Linked DNA regions of Homo sapiens: region 1 is linked to region 2. The links are contacts of gene promoters, found by promoter capture Hi-C in blood cells and fetal thymus (Javierre and others, 2016). All regions are on one chromosome and are shown on one strand. The core of a region is centred on a gene start or on the middle of the fragment in contact, and the rest is flanking DNA. Distances in the headings are between cores, read along the strand shown.

Evidence for each region. Contacts are between HindIII fragments. The CHiCAGO score rates a contact against its expected background, and 5 or more counts as called.
Region 1: a contact is called between a fragment that was not itself captured here and the fragment with the promoter of GNPTAB in region 2, in 1 of 17 cell types (neutrophils). The highest score is 5.3, in neutrophils.

Annotation. Positions count from the first base shown.
Region 1 is chr12:102,094,117-102,097,529 of GRCh38, reverse strand. All of the region lies in intron 5 of NUP37 (nucleoporin 37), which reads left to right. Among named protein-coding and RNA genes, the nearest start is that of NUP37, 24 kb to the left of the region's middle. The HindIII fragment of the contact is 1,964 bases long and covers 370-2,333 here.
Region 2 is chr12:101,828,717-101,832,227 of GRCh38, reverse strand. It overlaps GNPTAB (N-acetylglucosamine-1-phosphate transferase subunits alpha and beta), which reads left to right and starts at 1,269. Exons shown (of 21, transcript NM_024312.5): 1 at 1,269-1,669. The coding sequence starts at 1,553. RefSeq lists silencers at 1,087-1,486, 1,843-2,137. The HindIII fragment of the contact is 15,537 bases long and covers 1-3,511 here.

The sequences.
Region 1 (3,413 bases), core at 102-2,601, 270 kb before region 2:
AAAATTCTCTAAAAATTTAGGGGACTGACATAGGGTTGCTAACTTTTTATTTTGTCGAATATAAGACTTAAGTTTACTGCCTTCTACCACTATCATTTTGTAAAAGAAAGGACATTATTACTCTAAAAAGTAGGAAAGGAATAACTAAAGAGTAAGTCTTTTAGTTTAAATAAATTTAATTTTTTAAAAACCTGACTACATTGCCTCTAAGTTTCTCATTTTGCCAGACTGGTTGTTGATATTATTGTTCAACAAATATTTGCTTTCCTTTCACCTTCCCATGAAAGGAGATTTTCCCATCTAATTAGCCCTAGCTTTGTGAATTGTTTAGGCCAATGTAGCATTAACAGGTGTGACACAGCAGAAGCTTCAAATGTTTTGCCTGGCTTGACTTGACCTCCTGTGCTCTGTCATTTGCTATGAGATGAGCATGTCCTAGATAGCTACTGATCCCAGAATGAGAAACACGTGGAGCAGATATGGACCCATATGGCATTATGGAAACAGAGCTTCCCATAGACCCATGTGCAAGAAATTTATGCTTATTTCTGTAAACCACCGAGATTTTCGGGTTGATGCACAACATCAAACTAGGAGTATTTTTAGAATTTACAGCTTAGTTCACCAACCAAAAATAAACAACTCTGATTGGTTATTAAAGCCAAACCTCTTAGGCCAAAACCTAAGCAATATAGGTAAGATTTTTTTAAAAACAGAACGTATATAAAAACAAGTTTAAAATGAGAAAGAGTAGATAGTATCATACACTCTCATAGCAAGGAAAGAAGGAATTCTAAGAGGACATATGTGATAATGTAAGATTCTTACAATATCACATATATATTCTTACATTATCACATATGTGACAAGAGAGTATATCATATGAGCAGTTCTACAATATGTATTCTGTACTGTAAAGAGCAGACCCAGTGCTTACTTAAGAAAATTTAAAATAACCTCAATATTTTGATCTATGCATATTTTCTGATGTTTCACTTTGACATTTCCAAGAAAGACACTATATTATAATCAGCTAGCAGAATTTTGCCCTAGGAACACTATTTTAAAACAATCTGTGACCTGAATAGGTTCATGAAATGTATGTGTTGTATTGAAAATTGCCAAATTCTGAATCAAACAGAATAAAGAGTCGTACTGTGAACAAAGGTACCTCTGATAATACAAAATGTTATTATGGAAGATGATAGATTACATTTTATCTAAGACTCCATCTAATTTTACTATTCTATGATCTGTGCAAGTTTATAAGAAAATTGGGTTCTCATTAAAGTTGGTCTTTATCAGTTCCAACACTGCCTTTCTAACAAACATTTTATAATGCCTACCACACCTTTTTAAATGAAACTCACAGAAAATGTAGCCTTCCAAATATATAAGTACAGAAAATTATTATCGTCCCTTAATTTTATGATATATTCTATAAAAGGAAAACAAAGAGAATAATAATGCATTGTGTATAAGCTCAGATAACAACTACATATGAAGACATAGGTAGTCTTTCTTCTTCTTTACAATGAGTAAGACTGGATATCAGAAAAATAAGATAACATGAAAATGTAAGGCAGAGGCAAGGCAGTCAAGTTGCACAGTTGTAGAGATTTATGAGTTGTGTAGAGTATAATGTAAATAGTGCCATCTGGAGTTCTACAGTGTCATAGCGCTGAGCAGATCTACAGTTTTAGGATAAAAGCTCATGTTAGTAGTAATACAATGAAATTAAATCTCATTAGAGAAATAGGGAAATACAGGTAATCAAAATAGGAATAACATAGCAAGATAAATCATAGGATGTCAAGTTGAAAAAGTAAGATAATATTCTTGCAATATTTTCTGTATGAAAAGTATGACAAGTATATATCTTGATGAAGAAATATGTATCTTTATGAAAAAGGTGCCATTACTGAAACAAAAAGCAAGCGTCTGATAGATGTGTTTAATAAAAGAAATTCCCAAGTAAAGCATGGGGTTGCTAGTCATTCAGCCTTATATTCTACACCATTTTCTTTATGATCCCTCATCATGTCTACCATATGCAGATGCACTCACATGCATATACATGTATATATAAAAATATATGCACACATATATACACAGGTTGATAAAAATACTGATGCTTTATGTGTGTGTTTGTATATGCATATGCACAGAAAAATATAAATACGTTCATAGTTATGACCTAGTGTCATTGAAAGAAGGCTAAAATTATTACAGTATTTGAGAGGTAAAGAAGTGCATATTCATTTAGAAAAAATTATTATCTCCTCCTCCAAAAGAAGGTAAAAGTGTCATTTAAGTATTTAGTGGGTTAAGCTTATTATTTTTTAAAACTCACTAATACAGAACATCTCATTCCCAGTCATTGCCAAATAACAGATGTTCTTGTATATTAGAAACAGTACCATTCTGTAAGAACAAGTCAGATCAACAAGTATTTATTAAACACATTTAGTATACCCAATATTCAGTACTTTGGGGGATACAAAAGAAATACAAGACCTAGTACGCACTGTAACTACAAAGGATATCAGTAGTAAATCCCATCCCTCCTCCTCATCCCTCAATAATCTTTTAAAATATTAGATAAAAGTTTATGGTGAAAGAAAACTGACTTCTAGAAACCAGGGAATTTTTAGTTTAATAAAATATAGGTGTGCATATAATGTGCCATTCACTTTCTCTATAAAACATGAAATATTTGTAGTTGTCATGTTCTAACTGGGATCATTTTTTAAAAGAATGAGAGAAGGGTGGCATATAAAAAATAAAGAATAAGATATTAGAATGTAACCAAATCACTGTATAAAGGAATACTAAATTACCTAAGCTATTCACTAAGCCAGTAATATAGTTGTTTAAAAAATGTTGCAAGAGGAAAAATGATTTTTATCAAATTTGTTCTGTGTACCACATGCAAGCTATGTGTTTTTCATATTACCTTTGTTTATGTACATTTGAAAGTCTTTAAGATCCATAATTAAGATGGAGTGTTCTTCCTCCACCCCCACCCCAATTGAGATCACAAAATATGCAGTATACCTAAAAATAGTCCTTGTGGGAAACAGCAAAAAGGAAACTGAGAGCCTTCTGAAGGTAGGCCAATGAACCATTCTTTGGAAAGTAATCCACGTCTGGGAGTGCATAAACCATGCCCAGGTACAAAGTATAATCAGGATAATTTACATGATTTATTATACTGTTATAGTTAAAATTCAGGAAAAGTTCCCTGCTTGTCTTCTAAAACTCACTCTAATTTTTTCTAACATTTTGAATCAAGATCAGTAATTGCATAGTTCTAACAAGAGCCTTGAGAATGGGGTAAAATGGACACTTTGTGTTGAGCATGGCAATACTTTAGCTCCAGTGATGGAACATAGAGATTCTTTGTCGTTAAA
Region 2 (3,511 bases), core at 20-2,519:
TACAGCCTAAGTACCTGGTTCAAATCTCAATTCTGTCATTTACTATTTGTGTGATGTTAGATAGTTACTTTTTTTCATCACAGTTTCTTGATCTGTAGAATGGGGATAATAATGGTATCTCCATTATAAGATTATTGTGAGGATTAGATGAGCTGGGCACATGGCAGATGCTACATAAATGTTGGCCATTATCCTGAGAGTCCTGTTGAGTGGCAGATGTTTTTATATCTGTTACCATGCTTTTTTACCCCTTCTGATTAAGTCCTCAGATCTGTTATCATGCTTGAAAAGACCTCAGAACTATATGTGTCTTGTACAACTGCAATAATCTTTTGCCATGTACATATAGCATATATCAATCATCTTTTTTAAAAGAAGGATTAAAAGAAGTGACTGCAAAGTGTAAAAAATCTTGCCTTGGATTGGAGTGAAGCTAACCCCTTTTGCAAGTCTGTTAATTCCACCTGACCATCAAACTGAGGGTGCGAATTTGAGTATTTCCTGAAGCTGGTTCCCAAGATATTTTTAAAAATGCTTTGAATGATGGCAACATTAGATAAGTGTATTGTTTCCCAGGGTGACTAGGAAAAAAATCTTATTGACTAGGGTGCATTGGGATTAAGAAAAAGATCTCCCTTTCGTAAATCAGAGGCACCAAGGAAAGGATCTCGTGGGAAAAACCTGCTGTCAAAGTCGGATTACCTGGCCACCCCTGAGCTGGTTCCCCTCCAGTTCATCGCATGATTTCTATCATAACAACTCTTGTATTTAGTGGTTTACATGTTTATCTCCCCCACTAGACTCTCTGAGAACAGTAGCCAGGTCTAGTTCATTTTTGAATACCTGACACCAAGCACTATGCCACCTAACAGGCACAAATTACATATTTAACGACTAAATGAATGAACGAAATTCGGTTTTGGCAGATTTAACCCAAAGGTTTCCTCTTTCAAACAATATAGTTGGGGGTTGGAGGAAAGGAGCCACATACAGCATCTCCTTTTAGCACTCTGCAGAGAATGCTAAGTGCAGAGAAGGTTTTATGCACAAAAATATTCATGGCATTATAGTACCGTCTATGGCACAGTCTCGACGCAGGGGGCAGTTTTCTCTTGGTCGCCTGCCCAACCGGGTAAGTGGATCCCAGCTCAGCTCCGCCCCTCCCAGCCCAGCCCTCAGGGCCCGCTGCGCAAGCGCAGGTGGGGAGGGCGCGCACCTTCCCTATGCCCCTCCGTCCTCCAGGTGGCGCTGGAGACCCCGCCGCCGCCGCAGCCGCCTCTCGCCCGGCCAGACCCGGGCGGCGCCGGCCGCCTCGCCGGCCGCAGGTCCGCCTCCGCCGCGCCGAGGGCGTGGGCTCCCGGCTCCCGGAAGCGGCGGCCGCGGCGCGGAGCCGAGCGGGCGTCCGTCGCCGGAGCTGCAATGAGCGGCGCCCGGAGGCTGTGACCTGCGCGCGGCGGCCCGACCGGGGCCCCTGAATGGCGGCTCGCTGAGGCGGCGGCGGCGGCGGCGGCGGCTCAGGCTCCTCGGGGCGTGGCGTGGCGGTGAAGGGGTGATGCTGTTCAAGCTCCTGCAGAGACAGACCTATACCTGCCTGTCCCACAGGTATGGGCTCTACGTGTGCTTCTTGGGCGTCGTTGTCACCATCGTCTCCGCCTTCCAGTTCGGAGAGGTGAGTAGCGGCGCCGCAGCCTGGACCGGGCGCCTCGACCCTGCACTGCCCTCGCCGTGCCCCGCGATGCCCCGATACAGTATGTATTTTTTCATTATTAGAGACGGGGTTTTGCCATGTTGCCCAGGCTGGTCTCGAACTCCTGAGCTCAGGCGATCGCCCTGTCTCGGCGTCCCCGAGTGCTGGGATTACAGGCGTGAGCCACCGCTCCCGGCCAAATACAGTATTCTTTATCATAAACGTGTGCAGAGACTATGAGCAAGTCAGAACTGGAAAAAGGCATGTATGTGATTTTAGATATTGCTCCCTCGCCCACCGTTTTTTAAAAATAGAGACGGAGGTCTCCCTATGTTGCCCAGGTTGGTCTGGAAGTCCTGGGCTCAAGTGATCCTCCCTTCTTGGCTTTCTAAAGTGCTGGGGTTACAGGCATGAGCTACCGCACCTGGCCCAAGAAAGCCACTTTTAGCAACGGGGAGGAAAGCTGTATTTTTAAGTGGTTTGAAATCTGTTCCTTAGTTTTAGTTTTTTTCTTTTTCTTTTTTTTTTTTTTTTTTGGTAGGAGGTTACAAAAGGTTTTAAAATTTAACAGAGTAGTTTTTAGAAATGCCACAGTATACATTTGCTTGAAGTCTTTACCCATGCTGGATTGTAAGCTCCGTAAGAGAAGGTGCTGTCTGTAAATACTGTAACCCTGGCCCAAGCACAGTGCCAGGTACTGCCAGAGAATGCAGTGCAAGTGTTTGTTTAATGGCTAAATTATATGGCATGAATTCTGAGCATGTACTTTTTTAGTAGTTCTTGGTTCTAGAGGCTGGGAAAAAATGTCTTACCATAAGGGTGAGAAAGCTCCAGATTTGTAAGTGTGAAATATGTACTTAATATTATAGTACTTGCTCGTCTTTGTTTCATGTGTTGCAACTTAATGTATCTGTGTGTAGTTAGGTGCCTTATTGCTTTTGTGTGATTTTTTTGGCCTTGATTAATTTTGAGTTAACTGTTTATTAAGTCCCATGCAGTGTGAAGATGACTTAAAGGCATCAGGTGTTAGAATTCTTCATTTTATTTTATTTTTTTGAGACAGAGTCTTGCTCTGTTGCCCAGGCTGGAATGCAGTGGCTCCATCTCGGCTCATTGCAACCTCTACCTCTCAGGTTCAAGAAATTCTCCTACCTCAGCCTCCTGAGTAGCTGGGACTACAGGCGCGTACCACCATGCACAGCTAATTTTTGTATTTTTAGTAGAGATGGAGTTTCACTATGTTGGCCAGGCTGGTCTCAAACTTCTGACCTCAAGTGATCTGCCTGCCTTGGCCTCCCAAAGTGTTGGGATTACAGGTGTAAGCCACCGCACCTGGCCCGAATTTTTCATTTTATATCCTTTTCTTTTTGCTTTCATTCCATGCTTGGCTGTTTACCAAAAGAGAGACATTTTGTTGCAGTCCTGAAATGGCCACAGATCATAAGGTTTGGAACAGACAAGAGAAATGAGAGGCAGACAGTGCCAACAGGTGTCATGAGAGGTGAAGGCAGCTGGCCTGTGGTTAACTTGTAAGGCATAATGGAAAAGAGGAGCTGCATGATTAGGCAGATTTGGCCTTGATTGCTGACTCCAGTTGATAATGATCATAATAATAGCTAATACTTATATTGGTCTTAACAGGTATCAGGCACTCTCTTAATTGCTTTACATATGTTAACTGATTTAATCCTCACAACATCACCCCTGTGGGATAGGTGCTATTATTATAACCATTTTATAGGTGATGAAATGGATGCATTTGCATTAGAATCCAGCTAATTTGTGGCAGAGCTGGGCTTCAAACCAAGCCAGGCTGGCTCAGAG